2 separate regions of the Homo sapiens genome follow, and region 1 is linked to region 2. The links are contacts of gene promoters, found by promoter capture Hi-C in blood cells and fetal thymus (Javierre and others, 2016). All regions are on one chromosome and are shown on one strand. The core of a region is centred on a gene start or on the middle of the fragment in contact, and the rest is flanking DNA. Distances in the headings are between cores, read along the strand shown. Region 1 has its middle 9.4 kb from the start of LINC01647. Region 2 holds the start of ANGPTL7 (angiopoietin like 7).

What was found. Contacts are between HindIII fragments. The CHiCAGO score rates a contact against its expected background, and 5 or more counts as called.
Region 1: a fragment that was not itself captured here is called in contact with the fragment with the promoter of ANGPTL7 in region 2 in 1 of 17 cell types (M1 macrophages); the score reaches 5.0 in M1 macrophages.

The regions. Positions count from the first base shown.
Region 1 is chr1:11,615,605-11,622,272 of GRCh38, reverse strand. No RefSeq gene overlaps it. Among named protein-coding and RNA genes, the nearest start is that of LINC01647, 9.4 kb to the right of the region's middle. The HindIII fragment of the contact is 950 bases long and covers 3,297-4,246 here.
Region 2 is chr1:11,184,648-11,191,363 of GRCh38, reverse strand. ANGPTL7 (angiopoietin like 7) reads right to left here and starts at 2,009. Exons shown (of 5, transcript NM_021146.4): 1 at 1,409-2,009. The coding sequence starts at 1,784. The region is part of intron 28 of MTOR (mechanistic target of rapamycin kinase); the gene reads left to right. RefSeq lists an enhancer at 1,156-1,656. The HindIII fragment of the contact is 1,155 bases long and covers 1,956-3,110 here.

The DNA of each region.
Region 1 (6,668 bases), core at 2,522-5,021, 430 kb before region 2:
GGGGTGGGTCTAAGACTCTACTGCCCACTCAGAAAAAGGAATGTCTTCCAGATGGTCGGGGTCCCCAGAGGGAGGCCTGAGCAGAGAGAATGGGTCACAGAGTGGAGAGAAAAACATGGTAAGACAGGGGTTGGGGTCAGGTGCTGCTGCCAGCTTTGCCAGGAGTCCCTGTGTGACCTTAGGTCACATTTAGCCTCTCTGGGATGCTCTTTCTTCTGTTGGGAAATAAGCAGAATACAGGCTCCACCTACCCCTGGAAGGACAGTGTAGCTGGGCCAGATGTGAAATGCAGGAGGTGGAACGAAGGGCCAGAATATCAGACAAGGAGGCTTAGGTGCAGCACAAAGCTAGGGCTCCTTGAGGCCCTGTGCCCAGGCAAAGGTGAGGGGGCTCAGACCTGGTTCTAGAGCTCAGGGACTGATGGAAGCATCAGGAATACTGGGAGGGCCAAACAGCCTTGGCCCGTGGTCAGGGAGCCCTCGGAAGTGAGAGCAGCCTCAGACATTGCAAAGAGAGACCCAGCATCTTGCCTCAGTTCCTTCATCCATAAAATGGGCACGGGAACAACCCCAGCCCTACCTCCCCGACAGGTAGGAAGGGGCATGCTGACCTTGTTGGCGGACAGGGCTTGATCACCGTTAGGCGTAGGACCAGGCAGACAGCAGCATTCCTAGCTCTCTGGGCCTCAGTATCCTCATCTGTAACTGACGGGTTAGAACCAAATGACCTCAAATAATCCTTTCAGCTTAGACATTTGCAGCGTTGGTGATTAAGCAGGGAAGGCTTCCTGGAGGAGTCAGTCTGTAGGAAAGGGAAGGGTCGAGCTTTCTGCAGATTTAGGCCCCAAATCCTGATTCCTGAAGAAGGAGATGAGAGTGAAGGAAGTATGAGGGAGGAGGCAGCATAGTGTAGAGGTTGACAACTCAGACACCCATAGGTGCAGAGCAAGTGACTTAAATGGGTGAGACAGACAGGGTGTAATATAACAGGGACTGGTGGGGGCTGTGGCAAATTGGAACAGCGCGTCCCACCTAAAGGGGCAGCCATTTCTCTGCTCCACTGATCATTGCCATGTAAGGGTGTTGATCACGGGTTGTCAGATGGATTCAGTCTTTGCAAGTGTTCCCAACTGTAAAATGGGCACAGTATTAATAATTGTCTTAGTGACTTGGTGTTAGGACTAAATGAGCTAAGAAATGCAAAGTGCCTATTAACAGAACAATGGCTGGCATATAGTGAGTGGCAATAACTTTGTACTGACAATTACTACGATTGTTGTTATTCTCTATTTGTACAAAAGACCAGATGTCTTCCTTCCCCGGCCCCCAACACACTCCTGGCAGGAAGATGGGGAGCATCTAATCATTTCAGTGCAGTTGTTTGGGGTCTCCAGGGCCATGGGCTTCCTTGGCTGCCTGTGGCCTTGTCTTGAATGGCTCCAGCAGATGAGAAATGTTTGTGATCCAGAGAGAAAGCAGACGCCGGAAATGCTGCTGCCAACAGAACGCTTTGAGTCACCTGGACTCACTTCATGGGGGTTTTATTTTCTTTTGGTAGGTTATTCTGAGCCCGGGACATGCACGTTTGCAGGAAGGATTTGTCAGGCTTCGTTGGGCTGAGAAAGTGGCCACTGAAAAGCTTGGGGAGAGGCGGAGTCACGTGGTGAGGCGTGGAACCAATGCCAGTTGAAAGGGCCCAATTGTGAGCCTTAAAGAGATTCCCAGTTGTGTCCAAGGACGAGGTGGGAGAAACTAGGAGCGGGAGTGACAGGAAAATTGTCTAGCCGGTCCTCTACAGCACATGCATTCTTAATTCAGCCAGGGCTGGCAGAAAGAGACAGTGTGCATGGGTGTGTGTGCATACAGGGTGTGCATGTGTGTGGCGGGCGCCTGTCTACCTCCTCCAAGACACACTCCTTGGTTAACCCCAGCTGGCCTGGATTATACCTTCTTCTGTCTTGACTTCCAGTTCTGGATCTTTGGAAAACGAGCTGCAAGTCTTAGGGCAAGGCATTTAACCTTGCTGTGCCTCAGTTTACCCATCTGAGGAGTAGGATGATAATTCCAGTTCTACTTGCTCCAAAGGCAATCTAATGGTAGTGTTCTAGAAGGACTGTCTTTGGGTTTGAATGCACCCTCTCTCATCTGCAGAGCCCTCTGTAATTTCAAGGCTTTTACACAATCACGTCTGATTCCAGATATGGTGAGGTCAACAGATTAGCAGACAGCTGACATTGAAAAGACAGTCTGTGGCCAGGCACAGTGGCTCACGCCTGTAATCCCAGCACTTTGGGAGGCTGAGGCGGGCAGATCACGTGAGGTCAGGAGTTCAAGAGCAGCCTAGCCAACATGGTGAAACCCCGTCCCTACTAAAAATACAAAAATTAGCTGGGCATGGTGGCGGGCTCCTGTAATCCCAGCTACTTGGGAGGCTGGGGCAGGAGAATCGCTTGAACCTGGGAGGCGGAGGTTGCAGTGAGCCGAGATTGCGCCATTGCACTCCAGCCTGGGTGACAGGAGCAAAACTCCGCCTCAAAAAAAAAAAAAAAAAAAAAAAGACAGATTATTACACTCACAGATCCCAAGAGGAGCGGGCTTGTCCAGCCATGAGGGGGCACATAGGGGCAGTCAGGAGGTAGAGGGAGGGGGAAATCGTGGGCAAGAACATTTATTGTGGTATCCATGAGAAGGAACGAATGAGGCAGAGCAAGCCGGCTTAGGGTTGGCTAGTTTGAATAATTTCAGTGCATTCTGGGCCACAAGGGCTGCCCCTAGTTGTCTGGTAGATGACCCTGGAGTGATCAGGGCAGGTGGATAGTGGTCCAAAGTGTGAGAGCCAATAAAGGAGGTAGTTGCTGGTATAGACTCTGGATTGGTTGGTTTGCATTTTCAAAGCAAATGGGCTCATGGGCAAGTTGGTTACTATCTCTAAGAATTTACCAGCTCTTAACCCTCCAGGGTCACAAAGCCCCAGATGTCAAAGTATCAGAACACAGAAAATAAAAGGCATGCTTGATAAAGGAGGGGTTGGTTGACTGGTCGAAGGTCACGCAGCTTGGGAGTGAAAGAGCCCAGGTGTTTTGACTCTCGGTCCAGGACATGCCCCTGTGATCTTCAGGTGGCTTCTCCCGAGATCCCATGCCTTCCTTATGGACAAGGGCCTCCCTAGACCGTCACAGGGGCTGAGGGCAATGAAATGTTCTGCTTCCCACTTTCTGCCCCCAAACAGGTGTGTCCCAGGACCCTAGTCAGCACTGTTTTGGTTGCAAGTGACAAAAACCCCACCTTAAACAAGCTTAAGTCAAAAAGTGAGTTTATTGGCTCACATAACTGGGTGCTCAGGGTTTCCCAGTTTCAGGAAAGGCTAGATCCAGGAGCCCAAATGCTATTGTCAGGACATCATCTGTTTTGCGTATCTGGAGTCTGCGTCCCTTCAGGTGTTCTCACAAAGCCTTTCTCCACGTGTTAGGGAAGAAGGCCAATGGTAGCCCCGAACCCCTATAACTCATTACCCAAAAGGAAGAGAGATCTTCCTTGCTGGGTTCAGGTGTCAAATCTCTGATTGATCTTCTTGGGTCAGGTGTTTTTTTTTTTTTTTTTGAAACAGAGTCTTGCTCTGTCGCCCAGGGTGGATTGCAGTGGTATGATCTTAGCTCACTGCAACCTCCGCCTCCCCGGGTTCAAGCGATTCTCCTGCCTCAGCCTCCTGAGCAGCTGGGATTACAGCCACGTGCTACCATGCCAAGCTAATTTTTGTATTTTTAGTAGAGACGGGGTTTCACCATATTGGCCAGGCTGGTCTCAAACTTCCGACCTCAGATGATCCATCTGTCTCGGCCTCCCAAAGTTCTGGGATTACAGGCGTGAGCCACCACACCCAACCCATGGTGTTCATTCTTGAGCCAATCAGTGTGATCAGGGGGATTAGAATTCTGGGCAGCCTGGCCTGATCTCACACCCACGAAGTGTGTGTGTGTGTATGTCTGTGTGTGTCTGTATGTGCATGAGTGTGTGTGTGTTCCCGTGACTATGTTTTGTAGAGCATTGTGACTAAGCCCTACCAGGACCTCATGGAATGGGGGAGAGACAGGCAGAAACAGGCAGTATCTGCCCCCAATTCAATGTTCTTCATTCCTATCCACCAATTTTCCACAAAGGTCTTGCTCTGTGCCAAGGACGACTTCCTGCCCTGAGCTGGAAGGACTTTCTTGCCATCTTCCCAAAATGTCTTAACAGAAGGGCAAGCTTCCTGGTCTAGGAGTTGGGACACTGGGGTTTGGGTCATAGCACTGTCACTGAGTCACTCTGTGACCCAGGACAAGCCCCCTAAGCCTCAGTGTTCCTGTCTGGACAATGGGTGGGCTAGACTAGAAGGTCTTTAAACTGCCTCCAAGTTTGACCCTCTGTGAGTGAAGTGCTTGCTCTGAGCAAAGAGAGGTTCCGAAGCCTGCTTGCCAGGATGATGTGGGTGGGAACAGGGCTGTTAAAATACAGATTCCTAGACCCTCCCCAGGACCAGTTGGATCACACTCTCTTCGGAGCAGGACCCTGGAAGCTATTATTTTTGAGGAGTGATTCCGTTGTAGCTGGTTCACAACCTGGTGCTTGGGAACTACGGCCTAAGAAATCTGGTCCCTTGAAAGGGACAATGAACGAACTGGCTCTTTGAGGCATCTGGGCTTGTTGGCTCTGCTAGCCTAAAGCTAACAGGGTGTGTCCTGCATACAGTTGGCAAGAGACAGTAGCTGCTGAGCCAGACTGGCCCAAGAGCCTCCTGGTGGTGACTGCCCTGTGTTCTCACGTAGCAGGTGGCCTCTATGGGGACCTGGCCCTGCCAGCTGGCAGAGCATCTCGGAGCTGAGAGCTCTTCCTGGGACACTGGCAGGAGGTCTCACTCCATGCTGTTGTTGGGGATGAGATTTGGGGAAGAGATGTGCGTGCTGGCTTGGGATGGGGACCGGAGGCTGTGGGGCAGGCTGCTTAAGTCTAGTGGGGAGGGGAGCAGGGTGTGGCCTTGGGCAAGTCAGGTCATCCTCTTTGGGGCATCTGTCCTCCCACCTGTCCAGTGGGTTTGTAGCTTGGACCTTCTGAGTCTGCTTTAGTCCGTCGAGAGGGCTCTGCGGGAGAGAGGGCCACACAGAGGGGTGCTGTGAGGGTGGGGGAGAAGGCAGCTTTGATGGAGGAGGGGCTCAGCTTGCAGGTGCCAGAGGGCAGGCCCCCAGCTGATCAGGCCAGATGAGTAGCAAACCAAGAGCTCAGGAAGGGAGGGGAGAATGGGGCAGAAACGCTTCTGCTGGACAGCTGGAGAGAACCACAGGATGCCCTGGGGCCCCCCCGTGCCACCGCGTGAGCAGAGGCGGCTCAAAGCATGGTCCCGGGGCTGCCCTTTCTGGATTCAAATCCCAGCTCTGCCCTCAATGGTGTGACCCTGGGCCAGCCACTCCCCTCTGTGCCCCAGTTTTCTCTCCTATCAAGTGGGGGATGCTAACAGCCCCTCCCTCAGGGGGTCCTCAGTGGGCACTTAGCAATTGTTGTTGCTGTTAGTATTAGTGAGGACTGTACCTGCTTGGGGTTATGGGCAGGCCGTGGAGGCTGAGCTGCTGACCAGCCATGTGACCTTGTTGCCTGACCTCCCTGTGCCTCAGTTTCCTCTCTTCTAAAAGGAGGAGAAAAGCATCTACTTCATTCCAGTGAGTCTGCTGAGTTACTCCAGGTGAAGGCTTAGCATGCTGCCCCGCCCATGGGAAGGACTCTACAAAGGACAGCTATTGTTGGTGTTATTATTTATAGAGTTGAACTGGGTTAGGCATGTCACACTTTCCAGGGTGGGTTGGAGGTAGGTTCTGAACCCTCCAGGCGGCTGTGGGTGACAGGGGATCCTTGGGGTCTGGCAGGGAACCGCTGGAGCAGGCGACCTGCAAATCCCCAGGCCCAGACACCTCCTCCTGGGGATCAGCAGAATTTGGTGTGCTTTCGGTGAACCATCAGCTTACCTGATATTTGTGCCCTAGAGTGAGGCAAGCTCTGGCCTTTGGTCTCAAGGTGTGTGTTCCAGTTTCAGTCCTTGGCCTTGGCCAGGACTTGCCTTTGGCTAGTCTGAGCCTCAGCTTCCAAATCTGTGGTGTGTGATTGTGATGTCTACTTCACCAGGATGCTGAGGGAGCAGAGGGCAGTGGGGAGAACGAGCACAGCAGAATCTGCCATGCAAACAAAAAGCGTTGGTGGCCGAGGTGCTCTGCCTGGCATGCAGTCAAAGAAACTTGAGTTTGCTTCCCAGCTCTGTCACCCACTGGCTGGGCAACCCCAGGGCAAGTTCATCAATCTCTCTGAGCACTATCTTCTCACTTTTACTAAAATATGGATGATGATGATGGTTATTATTATTATTGAGACGGGGGTCTCACTGTATTGCCCAGGCTGGAGTACAGTGGTGCAGTCTCAGCTCACTGTAACCTCTACCTCCCAGGTTCAAGCAGTCCTCCCTCCTCAGCCTCCCAAGTAGCTGGGACTACAAATTAGTCATGCACCATCATGCCTGACTAACTTTTTGTATTTTTAGTAGAGATGGAGTTTCGCCATGTTGCTCAGGCTGGTCTCGAACTCCTGGGCTCAAGCGATCCCCCGGCCTCGGCCTCCCAAAGTGTTGGGATGACAGGCGTGAGCCACTGT
Region 2 (6,716 bases), core at 760-3,259:
GTACGTGTGCCTTCGCCATCACTATTCTTCATTTCGTCTTAGTGGTGAAAGCACCAACTTACTGCTTCCTCTAAGGGACTACCTACTTATAGAATATAAGGGTAACTGAGCACTTGGTCATAGAGAAGAAAAATAAGGAATGATGTCCTGGGCAAGAAGAGCAAGAGACCTGGTGGGAGAGCTGCACTTGACCCCAAGAACCTCCTTGCAGGATGGTGAGAAAGCCTCCTGTTTGGATGAGCAGGAAGTGGCACGGTCAGATTCCTCTGTCTGGCCTGGTCTTCCGCATGTCTGGTTTCATCTCACAGACCAAATCAGGACTCACTTGTCTGGAAAATGGCCTGAGAATACCTTTCTAATCCCAAACTGAGGGCCCGGAAGTCCATGCTTAGAAAGTGATTGATACATGTTGGTTCAGGTAACAGAATTTTCAAGCTTGGTTTCATGTTAAAACTTTTTCTTAATTTGAGCTGAGGTTAACCATTGACTTAGTCAGTAGAAGCTGATCATGTCTTTGTTCTTCATGTAGTTTATAATGGGACCAATGGTTTTTATATCAGCAAGAAATGACATGTCTATAGGATATGCTCCTTACAACTAATATTTTCCTGATAATTTCAGAAAACCAAATTTTTATCTCTAAACCGTAAATTCATGTTGGCCCACCTGAGCTGAGCTAACCAGAAATAAAAGTTATTTTGCAAAAGAAAGATTAAATTTATCTTATTTTTGGCCTATTAAGTCTATATTTCAGCATTGCATTTAAAAAATCCTGTATTCGGAGAAATTCATTTAAGACCATGGAAAAAAATAGACGTATCACAATTGAGGAACCTTAAGGAGCCGCATCCTTCCTGAACACAAAGGGACTCTTCACATGGTTATGTGTCTCTACACTTAACTCTGAGCCAATGAGAAGAGTTACGTTTACAGAGAGAGGACACAAAATTCCATTAATGCTCATTCCTGGTAAATCTTAGGAACACCAGAGAACTGTTTCTGGCAAAACTTTGCTTCCAGAGGAACAGCTGTTACAGTTTGGTGCTTCCTTGGAATTTCTTGAGATATAGCCTGTCAGCTCTTGGTGAGGAAGTAGCAGAGCTACACCAATCAGGAAGACTTGAACCCTGCTTCTAAGACTTGCTGGGTGACTTTGGGCAAACCATGTAGTATCTCAGCACTCCAAGATGGTAGGCTGAAACACTGTGTGGATAAAAGAGACCCGTGAAGGTGTTAGGTAAACTTACATAGCATTAGAAGTCAAAGGAAATACTGCATAAGCCTTTACTAAAGGGAAAGTGTACCCACAAAAGAGGCCCCAGTAGTGGTTCTGATGACCAGGATATGTAGAAGCAGTGCTGTAGATGGGGAGGCACTCCACGCTCCCTCAGGGGACTGGTCTCCTTACCTGCGGAGGTCTGAGTGACCGTCTGTGCTGCCTGCAGCTGCATGATGTCAATTTGGTTGTTCATCTCGGAGTACTTGCTCTCAGCATCTGTGAGCCGCGACTCCATGCGCTTGCTGTTGCTCTCCAGCTCCATCACCTGCATGACCACGCTGACCCAGTCCCTCTCCTGCTTCTTGTTCAGTTCACTCAGCAGGCTGCTAAGGTTGGCAACTTGGGCCTTGAGCTCCTTCACCTCCTCACAGCAGTTGGCCGCTTTGAGCTGTGGCTGTGCTGGTGTCTTGTGCTTAGAGAGCTTCTGCAGCCACGCTGGGTGGCTGACAAAGGCCACGATGAAAATGCAGAGCCAGGTCACAGCTGAGAGAGGCTTTTTCAGCATCTTTTGTGGGTTTGGGTGAGGAAGGCTCTTCCTTCAGGGGAGTCTGGAGATGCCCAGCTGAGGTCTGCAAAGCTGCAGCAGGCTGACTGAACCTTACGCTTTCACTCTGAGGGCCTCGCCACTTTGTTGTTTTCTCTCTTTCCTTGCTCTTTGCTAGCCTTTCTCAAAGCTTGAGTCTCTGACAGGGGAGCTGAATGGGTAGCCTATAGCTTTCCTTCCAAGCCCGAATGCTCCACAAGTCAGCATCTTAAATATTGTTTGCTGCCTGTACCTCCACCCCTACCATGGCTGCACCAGGCTTTAGCCCCTCCCAGCTCATCTGGGAGGGTCAGGTGCCTGTTGGGTGAAGTCAGCGGCAACTTAGGCCAGAGGAGGGGAGGAGGGAGATGGGGCGAGTCTTTCTTTCCTTGCCTGTACAGTCTCTGGGCTAAGACAAGAGGACTGTGAATTTGTGTGTTTCCAGTTTCGCCTATTAGATTATGCCCCTGCCAGCCACTGGCTCAACTCTATCAGCAAGCAGGACAGGGTCAGAAGAATTTCCAAATTCCGTTCAAAAGGTTATATAACCATGGGGTGAGCGTAAGGTAGGCGAAAGAGACGCTACTCACCCAGGGAGGCCTGTTAATGTAATCCATGCTGTTTATATGAGGATCTGGTATATTTTGACATCCTGCTGAATATGCTTTTATCTAGGCTGATTATTCCCATCTCTGATCATTATTTAGTATTTTATAAAATCCTTACTCAACCTGGATCTAACACTATCTCACATTTGAAATCTTCCAACTTAGAAAAGTTCTAGAAATAGAAGAATAGAGTAAATCTCTTAGGAAGCCAAAAAAAGACTTTGTAGCCACAGGGTTTGGACAGTTGTCTTTTTACATGCTTTCTCCTTCAACAAAGAGAGGGCCAGTATTAGCATATAACACTTGATATTTTGCAAGGAGGTGTCAGAAGATTACAACAGAGATGAAAACTCAGCAGTGCCAAGCATGTCTGGGATTGGTCACCCATGCTTCTGTCAGTTTCTAGGCAGGACAGAGAACAGGCCCATCCTTAGCCCGTGGTTCAAAACTTGGAAAATATATTAAAATATAGAGAAAAGAATCCCTGTCACCTAATAAATCCATATCTAGAGTCTCATTTCCCTCTTTCTTTGCTGGTATGGTTTGCAATTTGAAATTATTCCTCCTCTATTTGTATATGACTTTGTATCTAAAAAACATGAATATTGTAATTTTTCATGTACTATATATGAAGGACAATGCTCTTTTGAAAAGAAATGTGAAAAACATGGAGTTTCAGCAAACATCCTTAAAATAAGCTTTTCACTAAGAATCTATACAAAGGTTCCTCTGTCCTTAAAACAGTAACTCTGTCTTTGGAACATACGATTGCTGTTTCCATGTTATGGAGCCACTCAGGCAGTTACTTGTACTGTTGTAGTCAGCGTGGGTCCTTCCCACATAAGCCTGATGCCTGACAGCTCTCCTCCCATGCCATAATCCCCCAGAGCTCTTTTCCAGTCAGGGCTTCTAGCTCCTCAGAAAGTAATTTCTGTTCAGGCAGCTGGAGTTACTGAACAATTTTTTTTTTTCTCAGAATCAAAAAGCAGTGGAGGATCAGGTGGATCAGAGTTTGTTTTCTCACATACCCAGCCTCCTTTGCCTGCTAAAGGGTGAGGATGTTACTGATACCCTTATAGCAACTTGGCATTCTAATCAAAAGATTCTGTTGAGAATTGGCACTGTCTGCCAGTCTGCTCTCTTTTTGCAAATGTCTAGCCCAGCTGGGCACCACAGCCTTAGCTCCATAGCATTCATTTTAGTAACGAGACTCTGGCCCCAAATATTGGCATCCTACAAGGTCTGCTAAAAATAGGGATTTTCAAGTGGATCTCCTGGCCATCAAATGACACTGAGCTTAAACCACATGCCACAGAAGTGCTATGTACCATACAGTCATGTATAGCAGGGGTCCCTAATCCCCAGGCTGCAGACCTGTACTTGTCCATGGCCTGTTAGGAATAGGGCCATACAGCAGGAGGTGAGTGGCAGGTGAGTGAGCATTACCGCCTGAGCTCTGCCTCCTGTCAGATCGGTGGCAGCATTAGATCCTCACAGGAGTGTGAACCCTGTTGTGAACTGCACATGTGAGGGATCTAGGTTGCGTGCTCCTTGTGAGAATCTAAGTACTGCCTGAAGATCTGAGGTGGAACAGTTTTACCTCAAAACCATCCCCCATCTCCCCACCCCCACCCTGGTCCATAGAAAAATTGTCTTCCACGAAACCAGTCCCTAGTGCCAAAAAGATTGGGGACCACTGATGTATAGCATCCCACGTGACCCTGCTGCCTTGGAACTCTCATGTAACAGTGCAGCAGAGAAAGCACAAAAGAACAGTGGAACTTTGTGGAGTTCTAGCCAGCTTTTGTTTATTCTTCCCAGTAGCTCACCCAAACAGGAAAGTGTTATGAATTGATTCTTATATGTGGGCAGAAAATAAATTAATCATTCATATTTGTACCCCATGTAACAGTCCCTTTTAGGAAAGGTAGGAGGAGGTTCGTAAGTTTGTATTGGAAGCATCTAGCCTTTAGCATGAGTGTCTGGTCTTTGACATTTATTTTCTGGAAACTTATTTCTAACATAAGGCAATACTTGAAGACAGAAGACAGAAGCTCTTGAATTGCATAAGCTACCCAAATGTCAATACTCACCCCCCCTCCAGTTTTGAGGAAAAATAGCTAATTAAGGATATTTCTCATGCCAGAAGATTATCTATTTTCTAAAACATCCACAACCTTATGATGTCCTAGATTCTGAATATCTAAATGAAGGAAAAAGAAGTCCTTGTTTTGAGCACAGCTAAGCCAGTAGAGAAAACCATGAAGGATGTGGAGGACTAAAATGGTATTGCCTTCTCTGAAAGAGGCTTTTAAATCCTTCTTCTGCCTTTCAGTGAGCAGAGTGACCTTAAAAATGGGAATTAACTGACAAAATCTGGAAAACCTAGGTTGGATACTGTTTAGATTTTCCTTTTCTCCATTTTGCTGGTGTTGAAAGAGGGCTAGCTTGGTGCTCCTGGAAAAGGTGTTTATGAAAATTAAGCTTTTGTTCTTAATGAAAAAAGTCAGTGAGGTTGTACTCAACCTGGAGGTTCTCAAAAGACTTCACAGTGTTTGGGCCGCACTGCCTTGGGCTGGCACCAAGGTAGTCTGAGGGTCACAGGGCAGGGGAGCACCTAGGGGTGGTCTCTCCTTCTATCCAGAGAGGAGCATCAGATCCCATTTGCTTGAAAATGCCCCGTTGGAGAGACTGCTGCCCACTCTCAGCTTGTGGAATGAATACATCTCAGAAGAAGCTGCCTTGCTGTTAGTTTTAATTGTGTATCTCAAAGGAATATTTCACTTCTTCTGAAGTCTTTGAAAAAACCACAGCCTGCCATACTCTATACAGCCGTTGAATATCTGCCTTTTTTTTTTTTTTTTTTTTTTTGAGACGGAGTCTTGCTCTGTCGTCCAGGCTGGAGTGCAGTGGCACGATCTTGGCTCACTGGAAGCTCTGCCTCCCGGGTTCACGCCAATTCTCCTGCCTCAGCCTCCCAAGTAGCTGGGACTACAGGCACCTGCCACCATGCCCAGCTAATTTTTTGTATTTTTTAGTACAGGCAGGGTTTCACCATGTTAGCCAGGATGGTCTCGATCTCCTGATCTGTTGATCCACCCGCCTCGGCCTCCCAAAGTGCTGGGATTACAGGTGTGAGTCATCATGCCCGGCCACATATCTGCCTTTCTAGCACTCCATCCCATTCCTGTCTCAACTGAAAGTCCAAGTCCATCACAGAAGATATTTCCATCTTTTCCCTGAGCTTTCTAATTTGCCACTTCTATCAAAGAATGTGTCCTGAACCTATTAGAAGTCTTTTCTCTCAGGCCTTCTCTTAGAGTCCTGTTTTGTTTTGTTCTGTTTTGTTTTGTGACAGGGTTTCACTCTGTTCAGGCTAGAGTGCAATGGGGCAACCATGGCTCATTGCAGCCTCAACCTCCCAGTCTCAAGTGATCCATCCACCTCAGCCTCCCGAGTAGCTAGGACTGCAGGTATGCACCACCACACCCAACTATCTTTTTTTCTTTCTTTCTTTCTTTCTTTTCTTTTTTTTTTTTTGTAGTGATGGGGGTCTCACTGTGTTGCCAGGGCTGGTCTCGAACTCCTGGGCTCAAGTGATCCTCCAGCCTCAGCCTCTCAAAGTGCTAGGATTACAGGCATGAGCCACCACACCTGGCCAGAGTCAGTTTTAAATTATGGAATATAGTAAAAAAAAAAAAAAAGTCTCTCTGATTTCTGTCAGGACTTTATAGCTCTGTTAGCCTCCACTCAAGTTGCACAATCCAGCGATTATTCTGGCCCAGTGTCTGGCAGTCTAGTTAGACAGCTGAACTCTTGGACAGTGTGACATGCTAGGATGGGAGACACAGAGGACAAGGAGGGCCTTCTAGAGAAGTGATACCTAGGTTTTAAAGAAAAAGGAGGAAATAGCCAGGAATGGGAGAGGATGTTGTAAGCAAAGGTGCAGCTATGTGAAAGACTTGGACTAGTGGGAGAATGTAAGTAGTCGAGTGTGGCCTAAGAGTCAAAGGGAAGAAGAATGGCAGCAGAAGCTAAAGCTGGAGAGGTGGAGGGGGGCCGTGCCCGGGGAGCCCAGGTGAGGAGCGGGACTGATCCTCTGTAGACATGGGAAGGAATCCTAGAGGTTTTTCCCTCTTGTTCCATTGTTTTCCTGAGTTCCACCAGGAAAGTGGCCTTGGTAATTGCCAAACAATTTTTTTTTATTTTTTATTTTTTTTAGAGACATAGTCTCATTCTGTTACCCACCCTGGAGTGCTGTAGTGCAATCATATAGCTTACTGAAACCTGGAACTCGTGAGCTGAA